2 separate regions of the Homo sapiens genome follow, and region 1 is linked to region 2. The links are contacts of gene promoters, found by promoter capture Hi-C in blood cells and fetal thymus (Javierre and others, 2016). All regions are on one chromosome and are shown on one strand. Each heading gives the region's core, a stretch centred on a gene start or on the middle of the fragment in contact. The rest is flanking DNA. Distances are from core to core; before and after follow the strand shown.

The links. The method cuts DNA at HindIII sites, captures the fragments that hold promoters and counts their contacts. A CHiCAGO score of 5 or more calls a contact.
Region 1: a fragment that was not itself captured here is called in contact with the fragment with the promoter of TMEM106C in region 2 in 2 of 17 cell types (M0 macrophages and erythroblasts); the score reaches 6.2 in M0 macrophages.

The regions. Positions count from the first base shown.
Region 1 is chr12:48,624,748-48,631,608 of GRCh38, forward strand. It overlaps the pseudogene OR11M1P. Among named protein-coding and RNA genes, the nearest start is that of SNORA2C, 26 kb to the right of the region's middle. The HindIII fragment of the contact is 702 bases long and covers 1,078-1,779 here.
Region 2 is chr12:47,959,230-47,966,017 of GRCh38, forward strand. TMEM106C (transmembrane protein 106C) reads left to right here and starts at 4,367. Exons shown (of 8, transcript NM_001143842.2): 1 at 4,367-4,475; 2 at 4,980-5,194; 3 at 6,053-6,116; 4 at 6,609-6,768. The coding sequence starts at 5,008. RefSeq lists an enhancer at 639-1,169. The HindIII fragment of the contact is 3,638 bases long and covers 2,101-5,738 here.

The DNA of each region.
Region 1 (6,861 bases), core at 179-2,678, 660 kb after region 2:
TTTTCAAGCCCTAATTCATGATACTCAGGCCGGGTGCGGTGGCTCACGCCTGTAATCCCAGCACTCTGGAAGGCCGAGGCGGGCAGATCACGAGGTCAGGAGATGGAGACCATCCTGGCTAACACGGTGAAACCCCGTCTCTACTGAAAATACAAAAAAGTAGCCGGGCTCGGTGTTGGGCACCTGCAGTTCCAGCTGCTTGGGAGGCTGAGGCAGGAGAATCAGTTGAGCCTGGGAGGTGGAGGTTGCAGTGAGCTGAAATCATAACCCTGCACTCTAGCCTGGGCGACAGAGCCAGAATCCATCTCAAAAAAAAAAAAAAAGAAAAAATTCATGATAGTCAACAAAAAGCCCAAATTATTTTCACATAATTGGCTACTAAGTTGGGTCTTACCCTTCCTATGCTTGTGTAACCGGTTGTTAAAATCTACATGCAGATTTTATATGTGCCTCTGTTAAATTCCGTCTTGTTTTTAGTTTGGCATTCCAAAAGGCAAGATTATTTTGAATTATAATTGTTGCTTACAATATTGATTTTCCCTCTTTGTTTCATATCATCTGAAGTTTGATGAGCCATGCATGCTTACTATGCCTATTGAAGTCATTGCTAAAATAGGTGACGAAGATAAGATCTACAACACATTCTCCTTTTCACTAGACAGATTTCTCCAGATTTTTAGTCATTAATGAATAATTTTGGTGTATGGTAGCCAAACTAAAAGCGTTATCTTTTTTCTTTTTTTCTTTTTTGAGACAGAGTCTCGTTCTGTCGCCCAGGCTGGAGTGCATTGGCACGATCTTGGCTCACTGCAACCTCCGCCTCCCAGGTTCACGCCATTCTCCTGCCTCAGCCTCCTGAGTAGCTGGGATTACAGGCGCACACCACCACACCTGGTTAATTTTTTGTGTATTTTTAGTAGAGACAGGGTTTCACTATGTTGGTCAGACTGGTCTTGAACTCCTGACCTCGTGATCCGCCTGCCTCGGCCTCCCAAAGTGGTGGGATTACAGGCGTGAGCCACTGCACCAGGCTAAAAAAGCGTTATCTCTAAGCACACAGTCATCATCTTTTTATGAAGCTTTACTGAGATTAACATGCCCTTTCTCTGCTCCTTTCTCCTGATTGTTAAATTATTAGTACTGTCAATAAAAGATATTATTATGAGGTTTTACATTAGGTTCAGCATTACAAAGATCCTGGTGATCCCTTATGGGACTTCCAACTATTCTACATAGCATCTATTTAGGAATTTTACCAGGAACCAAGGTCAAATTCATTGGTTGGCAAGGGCAGTGCTTCTAACTTTATAATCATAAGCATTGGCTCAGAGTGTAGACTTCAGAAGTTTCGGGTCAGTTGACTGGTTGGTTGATTTGGTTAGTTTAACTAGTTTCTTCCTTTGCTCCCTCTTTCTGCTAAACCCAGAGTCCTATTTCACTCTCAATTCAAGTCACTCCTTGGCTCTTTAAGAAATCATTAGTATATAGAAGACAGAATATGTTCAAATACATATGAAAGCATTCAGTTTGTTCCATGTCTGTATCCCCATATGACTGAATGTGGGTCTGCATGATGTAAGCCCAAAGCCAAAGGAAAACGTAGGATCAGGCCAGGAACAGAAAAACCCTGTGTTCTCACTGCCATCGGCTAATGTGAGATGTCGCCTTTCTTAACTTCAAAAGTGAGAAAACTATCACATTGGGCTTTCTGGTTTCTTCCTCCTACGCACACACATATTTTTGACTTCCATATCCATTCTTATTTATGATTCCATCCCAAGCTTCCAATATTCCCTCAACTGTAGGGGATGACCCAATGATTCCTCCTCTATTTTAGTAGTCATTTAAATGTCTCTTTGACTCTAGCGTTAACTGTCAGATGGTGCAATTTTTTCATGGCAATTTGCTTTTGGAAAATTATTGTAATGAATTCATATATTAATTTATTTATTCATTCCACAAAGTCTTCCTATGTGTTTGGTGGAAAGGTAGTGCTGCAATAACTGAGAGAAGGAAACCTACGCCAGAAGAGAAGTTTCTAAAGAACCCACAGTTAGTTAAGATAAACTGAGCATTTGACCTGTATGGAAAATACAAGGCAGGAGAACCAAGATAAATAGAGTGTTTCCAGTTTCCAACAAACTGATCGGAGACTGGGCAAAGTGTGGAAATGGCTTTACCAAGGGTCACCAGGCCACCTGTCCAAAGAGAAAGAGTGGTTTCCCAGGGGGGTGGGATCTGGGTTAATTCAGATCTTTCTGTGTTGCATATCTTGCTGAATAGATGATATAGATTGCTCATCTGGATTTCCAAGTCTCATTTTCTTGGAAAGAAAAAATAGTCTGAGATGAGTGGCAGCCTCAGGAACGTGCATGACTTCAGAGTAGGACCAACTCTCCTAGAGGCGATGCGCACGCCTCCTACCCTTCCACAGTTCACCAGCTGTGGTCCTCCTGTTGGTGCCCAGCCGGGACCTCCAGGTAAATAGCTCCCTGCGGATTGGAAGAACATTATGCTGCTCTCTAATTTTGACATTTCTATCACTTAAAAAACGTTTGGGGCCAGATGCAGTGGCTCACGCCTATAATCCCAGAACTTTGGGAGGATCGCTTGAGCGCAGAAATTTGAGACCAGCCTGGACGATATAGGGAGACTTCATTTCTGTTAAATTTTTTTTTAAGTAGCCAGGCATGGTGGCATGTGCTTGTAGTCCCAGCTACTTGGGAGGCTGAGGTGGGAGGATGGCTTGAGCCCAGGAAGTCGAGGCTGTAGTGAGCTGTGATCGCACCACTACACTCCTGCCTGGGTGAGACCCTATCTCAAAAAAAAAAAAAAAATGTGGGTGGAGCAGGTTGGGAAAGCACTGTAGAACAGTAGACCATTCGGGAGCCTTAGAGTCAGGCAAACCTGGGTTCACATCATGACTCCATCATAATGACCTGGAATAATTGACTTGAACAAACGGGTCTTAGTTTCTCTTCCACATCTGGGAGACAATAAGGCCTGTCTCTGATGCGTGCTGTGATGAGTAAATGGATAAGCCAAGCATGGAGTGTGGCCATAATAGTATCTTTGTTAATATTAACTACCTTCCTCTCTTCTCTTGGGCCCAGACCTGGAAGAAGAAGCAGTCCAGTGGTGACAGTGGGAACCAGACCACCTGGCTGATCCTAGTGGGCTTCGGGGAGCTGCAATACCTGGGCTTCCTTCCCTTCACTCTCTTCCTGGCCATCTATGTGGTGACAGTTGGGGGCAATGCCCTCATCATGCTGGCTGTGGCCTCTAGTCGGACACTGCACCCACCAATGTACTTCTTCCTCTGCCACTTCTCCCTGCTGGAGATTGGCTATACCTCCAACGTCATACTATGGCTGTTGCAGAGTTTCTTGGAGGGGAAGGAAGTCATCTCTCTAGTCAGCTGTCTGGCTCAGTTCTACGTGTTTTCCTCGCTGGCTGCAGCTGAGTGCCTCCTGCTATCTGCCGTGTCCTATGACTGTTACTTGGCCATCTGCTGCCCCCTTCACTATCCTGCCCTGATGAGCACCTGGTTTTGTCACTGCCTGGCCGCTGGTGCTTGGTTCAGTGGCTTCTTCTCCTCTGCCTTCACTATGGCCCTGGCAGCACCTCTGTCCTGGCAGCAGGGAGATTGACCACTATTTCTGTGAGTTTGCTCCAGTAGTCAGGCAGTTCTGCGGGGATGTGGGAGTCATGTAGGGAGCTGAAGTCAGCATCTCAGGCTTCCTGACACTGGCCGCCTTCCTACTGATTGTGGCATCCTCTGCCTTCATTGAGGGCTGTACTGCAAATACCCTCAGGCCATGAGAGGCAGAAAGCCTTCTTCACCTGTTCCTCCCACCTCACCGTAGTTGGGGTATTTTATGGCACCCTCATTGTGGTCTATGTGGCCCCAATAGAACACATGTCCCCTTGCTTCTAAAGGTCTTCTCTGTCCTCTACACAGTGTTCACTCCCATGGTCAACTCCATCATCCACAGCCTCAAGAACCAAGAGGTGAAGGGGGCTCTGCATAGGCTCAGGGGACAGCTCATCCCAGGACACACTCACTAAGGAGGACAGGACAGCTTTTGACTTCTTCCTGGATTGATTTCAGCTTAGCCCCTTCCTCAAAGTCTGATGGACTAGAGACCACTGCAATAAAAAGATGGAGACTGTGGGATTGAAAATGGATGTCTACCAAAATGAGGTAACTGTATTTTCCAATTGGAATTGGCCTCCCTATCCCCAGTGGTAGCAGCTTCCCCAACCCCAGCGACAGCAGCCTCTGTCCCTGTCTGAGGGAATTAATCCCACATTGCCTGAAGAAACTGTAATTGCCTCCCCTGGGGCAGTTCCCATGCAAGACAATGCTGATTCTCCTCAGAACCCATACCCATCACTCCTCTTTGGTTCTAAAACTATAGCTAGACCCAAGTCCCTGCAGGCCTCTAAAGGTGAGCACAAAGTGTGACCCATGAGGACATGCACTACAATCCAAAAGAATTACTTGGGTTTTCTAATTTATACAGACAGAAATCCAGTGAACATGCATGGAAATAGATCTTGAAATTGTGGGATGATGATGGAAGGAACGTAAAGTTGAATAAAGCCGAATGTATTGATATACATTTGTGACAGTGGGAACCAGACCACCTGGCTGATCCTAGTGGGCTTCGGGGAGCTGCAATATCTGGGTTTCCTTCCCTTCACTCTCCCTTCAAGGCTCACTAAAGCAGAAATTCTGCATTTAATGTTGCAGCTTGGGGAACTAGGAAGGATTCTAACAGTTTGTTTAGTTGGTTGACTGAAACATGAACCAAAAGGTGGGATACAGTAAGTGAATTAGAAATGCTGGATCTGCCTTGATTTAATGTAGAGAAAGGATTCAACGGCTAAAGGATATTGAAATATTAGAGTGGATTTGTTACTTAAGACCTACTTACCCATGTGAGAGGGCCCAGAAGACATACTTTTCACTATGACTAAGAAATAGGGAAGCCCCGGCATCCTTGAAGAGCTCTGTAATCTCTCTTCACTGTAGCCCAGACCTTACGGTGAGGACTGCAGTCACTGAATTGGGAAACCTACATTCAATGGGAGTGACTGCATCCTGAGATGGCAGAGGCCAAGTGGCAGCACTCAACCTCCAAAGGCAAGGTGTACATGGTTGCCACAATGGACAGCAGAGTCAAATCAGCAATCAGAATAGCCGGACTCACACAGACCTATGGCATACTGTTTCTAGAAATGCAATAGATAAGAAGCCTACTAAATTCTTACTTGATCAGAAAAGTTCTAAATCAAGTGAACATCAGCTAAGTTTTTATCAGGGTTATTCTACTAGTGCCACAAGAGAGTTAGATTGGGATTGTAAGAATGAAGGGGAAGTGATGATGAGGGTAACAAGAGGGATTGAGAATCTCAGCCATCCATCTTATTGGTTACAAGAAATGAAACTATTTCAACTTCCCTTGAATATCTTTCTTCATTTTTCTCCATGCCAAACCTACTCTTTCTCATGTAGAGAAACCTTCCAAGGATGGTTTTTCTGTGCTGCCTTCCAAGGATTCTCCTCCGCTACCTTTCCACCTTTTCTCTTGCATGTACCTTGGGATATAGAACAAAAGTGAATATATACAAGTGAGTATTTGGCTGGGAGATGAGGCTGGAAAGGTTGATTGGGAAACAGACTGTGATTGATTGATTACTGGTCATTCCAATTTTAATTCCATAAAATGACACCAAATAATTTTGGATTTATTTGGAATAAAATTCCAAATTAATAAATTTATTATAATTATAATTATTATTTTATTTGGAATAAAATTCTAAATTTATTAATAAAAGCATTTAATAAATTGTTGTATATTTTCCATGGGCTAATTATTGCTTAGGACTGGGAGTGCATATGAATTATAAATGATCTCTGACATTGAGGATCTCATAGTTTTTTCAACTCAGTCTTTTTTTTTTTCTTTTCTTTTTTTTTTTTTTTGAGATGGAGTTTCACTCTTATTGCCCAGGCTGGAGTGCAATGGCACCATCCGGCTCACTGCAACCTCTGCCTCTCGAGTTCAAGTCATTCCCCTGCCTCACCCTCCCGAGTGGCTGGGATTACAGGCGCCTGCCATCACACCCGGCTAATTTTTTTTTGTATTTTTAGTAGAAACGGGGTTTCACCATGATGGCCAGGCTGATCTCGAACTCCTGACCTCAGGTGATCTGCCCGCCTTGGCCTCCCCAAGTGCTGGGATTACAGGGGTGAGCCACTGCACCCGGCCTCAACTCAGTCTTAAAAATGGATTTTCATTTCAGATAGCACTAGTACAGCATAAGTTATGTCTCATCTTTCCCATGGCCTATTGGATGACCTCTCATCATGGAGCACTCTCCCTTTTCTATCCATACCTTTTGCTCTCTCTGACACAGGGATCTGCTTGGTTCAGTGTGAGAGTAATTTGAACACCCAGGCCTTTAATGGAAAAAACTGCTGATGGCAGTAGTGACAACGGGATTTTCCAGCTGAACAACTTCTGATACAAAGACCACAAGCATTCCTCAGAAAATGCCTGCAACCTAATGTGCAGCAGTAAGGACTCTATCCCTCTGAGGGCTGGATGAAGTGGGAGCAGGTAAAATAGGTGCAAAACTGAATGCACTGCTCCCTATCACCTGACTGTCAGCCTGTGCTGGGGAAGCTGAATATGGGGAATAAACAGTCCTCACACTGAAACAAGATCCCACAGAGATCATCCTGACAAAAAGAAGGAAGAAAGACTGGCCCCTGGCTAAGCCCCCTGATTCACAATCTCCTTTTCATCTTCCCCATTCATGGGTTCCCACCCTTCAAGACATGTTATCTGC
Region 2 (6,788 bases), core at 3,117-5,616:
TCTCGGCTTACTGCAAGCTCTGCCTCCCAGGTTCACGCCATTCTTCTGCCTCAGCCTCCTGAGTAGCTGGGACTACAGGTACCCGCCACCATGCCCGGCTAATTTTTTGTATTTTTAGTAGAGACAGGGTTTCACCATGTTAGCCAGGATGGTCTCGATCTCCTGACCTCATGATCCACCTGCCTCAGCCTCCCAAAGTGTACTTTCTTAATAAACTTGCTTTCACTTTGCACTGCACACTCGCCCTGAATTCTTTCTTGAGCGAGATCCAAGAACCCTCTCTTGGGATCTGGATCGGGACCCCTTTCCTGTAACAACTTTGGACTTGGACTTTTGAGTAAATGCTGGGATGAGTTAAGACTTTGGGGGATTGCTGAGAAGGGATAATTGTATTTTGCAATGTGAGAAAGACATGAGACTTGGGAGGGCCGGGGTGGAATGACACAGTTTGGATTTGTACCCCCACCCAAATCTCATGTTGAATTGGAGGAGGGGCCTCATGGGAGGTGATTGGATCATGGGGGCTGTTCTCGTGATAGTGAGTGAGTTCTCACAAGATCTGATGGTTTAAAAGTGTGTGGCACTTTTCCCTTCACTCTCTGCTGCTCTGCCATGGTAAGATGTGTTTGCTTTCCATTTACCTTCTGCCATGATTGTAAGTTTCCTGAGGCCTCCCACCCATGCTTCCTGTACAGCCTGTGGAACTGTGATTCAATTAAACCTCTTTTCTTCATAATTACCCAGTCTCAGGTAGTTCTTTATAGCAGTCTGAGAATGGATACAACCCTTCTTTACAGGGGAGAGAGAAGATGGGGAATGTAAGCAATTCTTTTGAGGGGCAGTAAATGATTAGGGAGAATGAATAGACAAGGCAGACACATTAACTTGTAAATGATTCTCTTTGCAATTTGAATGAGCAGGAAAGGCAGGCATTATCTTGTGAAAAATTCCATCCAAGCATGATTGCATTCTTCAGTCTTCTTCTCTGCCATAGATCATGATATTTCAGGGATGGGATACAAACTCTTGGTAAGAAGTTTTCTTGGCCAGGCACAGTGGCTCATGCCTGTAATCCTAGCACATTGGGAAGCTGAGGCAGGAGGACTGCTTGAGCCCAGGAGTTTGAGACTAGCCTGGGCAACAGGGGGAGACCCCATCGCCAGTAAAAATTTAAAAATTAGCCCGGCGTGGTGGTGCACACCTATGGTCCCAACTACTTGGGAGGTTGACGTGGGAGGTATCATCCAAAAAAGTATCAGAGATAAGTCTCAATTAATTTAGGAGTTTATTTTGACAAGGTTAAGGACATTCCTGTGACACAGCCTCAGGAGGTCCTAACGACATGTGCCCAAGGTAGTCAGGTACAGCTTGCTTTTAAACATTTTAGGGAAACATGAGACATCAATAATTATGTGTAAGATGTGCATTGGTTGGGTCCAGTAAGGCGGGACAACTCGAAGGGTGCCGAGGTGGGGGTCTTTCAGGTCAGAAATAGATAAGAGAAAAAAGGTTGCATTCTTTTGAGTCCTACATCCGCCTTCCATTGAATACACAATTTAGTCTGGCTCAGTACACCTGCATTTTTACATACACCGTAGGGCAGAGGAGGCAATCGAATACACATTTGTCTCAGGTGAGCCTCAGAAAGATGACTTTGAGTCATGTCTGTCCTTTGTCCACAAGGAAATTCCTTGTGGGCAAATTGTGAGGGGGATATGTAATTTTGATCTTTGTAGCTACCTTATTTAGAAATAAAATGGGAGGCAGAATTGCCTGACATAGTCTCCAGCTTGACTTTTCCCTTGACTTCATGATTTGGGGGTCCTGAAATTTATTTTTCTTTCACAACGGTAGTGAGGCATGTCTGACTCCCCCTTCCCATCATGGCCTGAACTAGTTTTTCAGGTTAACTTTGGAATGCCCTTGGCTGAGAGGAGGGGTCCATGCAGATGGCTGGGGGTAGAGAAGACTTAGCTTTATTTTTGTTTCACAGAGGACTGCTTGAGCCCCAGAATTTGAGGCTTCAGTGAGCTGTGATGGCACCACTGTACTTGATCCTGGACGACAGAGCAAAACCCTGTCTCAAAAAAAAAAAAAAAAAGCTTTCTTGGTGAGACAAGGAAATTCCAGAGAGAGTCTTCCCCTATGCTTGGGGTTGAGCGGAGGAACAAGACAAGGTTAGAGGTACCTTGATTCTGAGGCTTGTTTTCTTTTAATTCTCAAAAGCACTCCGTATGCTCAAACACCATATTTTGGGGAATCGTTTTCTGTGACCCAACAGATGAAAAAAAAAAAAACATTTCAAGAAGGAGAAGAGGTGGATCAGAGATGTGAGAGGGGAAGTAGAGGGTCCTTGTTGCCTCTTACTAAAGACTCAGTGGGCTGATTGTGGCCAGTGGTCAGGCAGATGGCTAGACAACAGCAGGTACATTGGCATTCCCCACAGGAGAAAGAGGAAAATACAGAGGTGGCAGAAACCTGAGGGGTCACCAGCCTCAGCCTCACTCTCTATTGCCAAGTGGGCCCCTTATTCATCCCATTTCAGAATATCTCCTCTCCCCTAGCATCATCTTTAATAATTTCACCTGGTTAATGTCTGTACTCAACTCCTGCTGCTGCAGGCTAAGCTCAACCTGGCAGTATGAACAAAGAAACCCACCCATTAAAAAGTACCCTCTAGGCCGGGCACAGTGGCTCACGCCTGTAATCCCAGCACTTTGAGAGGCCAAGGTGGGCAGATCACCTGAGGTCAGGGGTTTGAGGCCAGCCTGGTCAACATGGTGAGACCCGGTCTCCACTAAAAATACAAAAATTAGCCAGGTGTGGAGGTGTGCGCCTGTAATCCCAGCTACTTGTGAGGCTGAGGCAGGAGAATCGCTTGAACCCGGGAGGCGGAGGTTGCAGTGAGCTGAGACTGTGCCACTGTACTCCAGCCTGGTCGACAGAGCAAGACTCCATCTCAAAACAAACGAACAAACAAACAAACGAACGAAAAGTGCTTTCTAACCTCTTACGTACGTGCCTTTTTTGTGGAGGTCTGGGGAAGGGGGGGCCCTACTACCGAATGAATCTACTCCTTGGTGCCTCTTGGCACCTAATTGGCTTGCAAAGCTCAGCTGTGGGGTCCGTTCCTGCGAGAAGCCAGCAGGACTCCCCATGGAAGGTTTCCCCCAGGCTGGGCCCCTCTGACTTGTGAGACTTCCAGCAGCACTTTTATCTACAGTATTGGAGGGGTCTGATGAAGCCTCTGGGTTCCCCTCCTGGACTGAAGACAGGTTCTGATATAATTGCCGGACGGGTTCTCCTTGCCCGTTGCCCAGAGCTGATTCATCAAGACAGGGGAATTGCAATGGAGATTTTAATTCATGCAGAGCCGGCTGAATGAGATACCAGAGTTTTATCACTCAAATAAGTCTCCCCGATAATTCAGAGACTGGGGTTTTTTAAGGATAATTCGGCTGGTAGGTATCAGGCAGTGGGGAGTGCTGATTGGTCAGGTTGGAGATGAAATCATAGGGGGGTCTAAGTGGGTTCTTCTTGCTGTTTTCTGTTCCTGGGTGGGATTGCAGAACTGGCTGAGCCAGATAACTGGTCTAGGTACTGCCAGCTGGTGCCTCAGAATGCAGGGTCTGAAAAATATCCCCAGCACCGATCTTAGATTTTACAATAGTGATGTTATCCCTTGGAGCAATAGGGAAGGTTTGGAATCTTGTGACCTCTGTCTGGATGACTCCTAAACCATAATTTCTAATCTTGTGGCTAATTTGTTAGTCTTACAAAGGCAGTCTGGTCCCCAGGCAAGAAGGGGGTTTGTTTTGGGGAAGGGCTGTTATCTTTGCTTCGAAGTTCAACTATAAACTAAATTCCTCCCAAAGTTAGTTTGGCCTATACCCAGGAATGAACAAGGGCAGTTCGGAGGTTAGAAGCAAGACGGAACTGGGTAAGTCAGATCTCTTTCACTGTCATAATTTTCTCACTTACAATTTTTGCAAAGGCAGTTTATCCGAATGCTCCGCATGTGTGTACCCTCAGCGACTACACAGCTCCTGTACTATAAAGAATATTTCAGAATGGCTTCGGTAGCCGGCAGCACCTTCCTCCTCTCGCAGCAGAGAAGTGTTTTGCTCTGGAAACTTGACTGGAGCCTTTCCCAGCCTATCTAGCGAACAGCAGAGCATCATCCCGACTCCGCGGACTACCGCGGCCCAACAGCAAGGGTCGCGGCTCCCCGGCGCTCTCTGCCGCCCTCTACCGGAACCGAGGGAGCCAGACAGCTGCGATATTGGGAAGGCCTCCGGAGCCGCGAAGAGCGCACGCGCGAGCGCGCGCCCGCGTTCTCCTGGCGGGCTTGGTATTTGGCGCCTGCGCGCTGAGTGCGTGCCGCTCCGCCGACCGAAGAGGCTGGTAAGTCCTCAAGCTGGCAGGTGGTCGGGGGAGCGGCCGGAGAGGAGCTGCCGGGAGTTCGTGCCCTGCAGGTCTGCGACGCTGGCGTTCGCTCCTGCCTGGGCCACTTTGGTGGGCTCAGAGCATCGCTTTTTGCCAAGGGGCGTGACCTGAGCCCGCCTCCTGGGGCTGGGGGGTGGAGAGGAATGGGAATCGTTAAGGCCGGTTATCAATTTGGTGCCTGTTTGTTGCTCGAGGAGGGGCATAGAGCTTACAAATAGTGAAGAGGAAGGGGCGAGGCTGGACCAGGTGGGAGCGGGGGTGCCCCAAGTCCCAGGGCGGTGAGGATCGAGGCAGGTGCGTGAAAGGCAGGCCCCGTTCCCCCTCCCCACCCCCGCCGGCTGTGTGTGGCGGGTAAGAGGAGAGTGGGTAGCACTACTACAAAATGAGGGTCCCGATAGAAATCGTACAGGTGTTGGGACCACACTCAGGGCGGCAACTTGTCATTTTTGCGTTTTTAATTTTCTTATAGAAACAAGCGATTTCTGTCGTGATTCACTGGGGCCGCTAACGTGCACTCCCTCTTTTCATCTTAGGACATGACACCAGTGGCATATCACGGCCATGGGGTCTCAGCATTCCGCTGCTGCTCGCCCCTCCTCCTGCAGGCGAAAGCAAGAAGATGACAGGGACGGTTTGCTGGCTGAACGAGAGCAGGAAGAAGCCATTGCTCAGTTCCCATATGTGGAATTCACCGGGAGAGATAGCATCACCTGTCTCACGTGCCAGGGGACAGGCTACATTCCAACAGGTGATCATGGAGGGATGATTCCCTGATGAGAATCCCAAGGTACCCTCGGAGTTCTCCTGTCTGCCCAGACAACTTTTCTTCTAGGCAGTAATACCATAATAGAGACAGTGCCCTGGACAGGAGCCAGCTCAACTGACTTAATACACTTGGGCAGTTCTGCAACTTCTCTTCCTCTCCTTATTTTTCCAACCCTTTCTTTTCTTTACCGCCACTCTTGTTCTTTTCCTGAGGTTTGGAACATTCAGTTCGCTCTGTGTTGTGGGATTTGTTGACAGGCACATTTCTTTATCGCTGTCACAAGGATTGGGACAGCTTTGCGGGGGAACCATCTTGGAAGCTGCTTTTCAAGGAAATGGGTAGCTAATCCTTAACAGCCTAAGGTCAGAAAAATATATCAGGTCAAGAGAGAGAGACAAATACTTAGCCTTGGTACAGGATCATCTATTACTATTAACAAATTGGCCCTCAGAAAGTCTTTAACAGTTTAGCTGGAGAGTCACAGAAATTTAGAGCTGGTTAGGACCTTCAAAATCATTTACTCCAAAGCTTCCATATGAAAGGCAAGGAAACCATGGCCTTGAGAGATTCGACGACTCTGCCAAGCCCATGCAGTAAAGCCAGAACAGGATCCCAGGTTTTTCAACTTCCACATCACTACCCTGGCAGCACTGATAGATGTTTTATAATTTGTGGCACTCTCTTGTTTCTTGTTCATTAGACCCAACATGTGAATTTCACTAGTATTTTTTAAAATGTCTCATTCCAGAAGAATATTTGTTGTGGCAGGCTCAAGTGAGACGTGAAGGAAGTACTGCCAACACATGGGATTTACAAAATAATTGTTTGGCTCTTTTCTAGAGCAAGTAAATGAGTTGGTGGCTTTGATCCCACACAGTGATCAGAGATTGCGCCCTCAGCGAACGTGAGTTACCTGCTTCTCACCTGTTAATACCTACTTCTGTCCCTAATCTCTTTCTGTATGTATGAATGCCAGTTAATTCTTTGAAAACTACACATGTTCTTATAAGTTCCCCATTTTCCTTATAACTGTTTGCCCAAGCAAGATATCTCTGCCCCCATCACAATCTGGGGAAAGAAACTTGAAGCTGGAAATGCTTTGAAGGTCAAGGAATGGAATCAGAAGAAACTGGGAAAGTGGAGTGTTCTGGGAGGTGTGGGACTGTCTCTGTCCACATAGCTCCTTTCTTCAGCTTTTCTTCCCAGAGTGCAAACAGTGTTTAAAGGAGTTTTAAAAGGTTTCTCCTGCTTCACTGCTTCTTAACTGGTTTATGGTTCCTGGCTCTTGGAACTTCCCTTTCAGCTCCCTTCTCTTTCCTGGTTTTGTGTTTAATCTTGACACATTGAACCTTGATATCTGACTGCCTGGGTCGGTCATGTGCTGTGTCATTTGCAGTAAGCAATATGTCCTCCTGTCCATCCTGCTTTGTCTCCTGGCATCTGGTTTGGTGGTTTTCTTCCTGTTTCCGCATTCAGTCCTTGTGGATGATGACGGCATCAAAGTGGTGAAAGTCACATTTAATAAGCAAGACTCCCTTGTAATTCTCACCATCATGGTAAGCCTTAGGGTTTCATT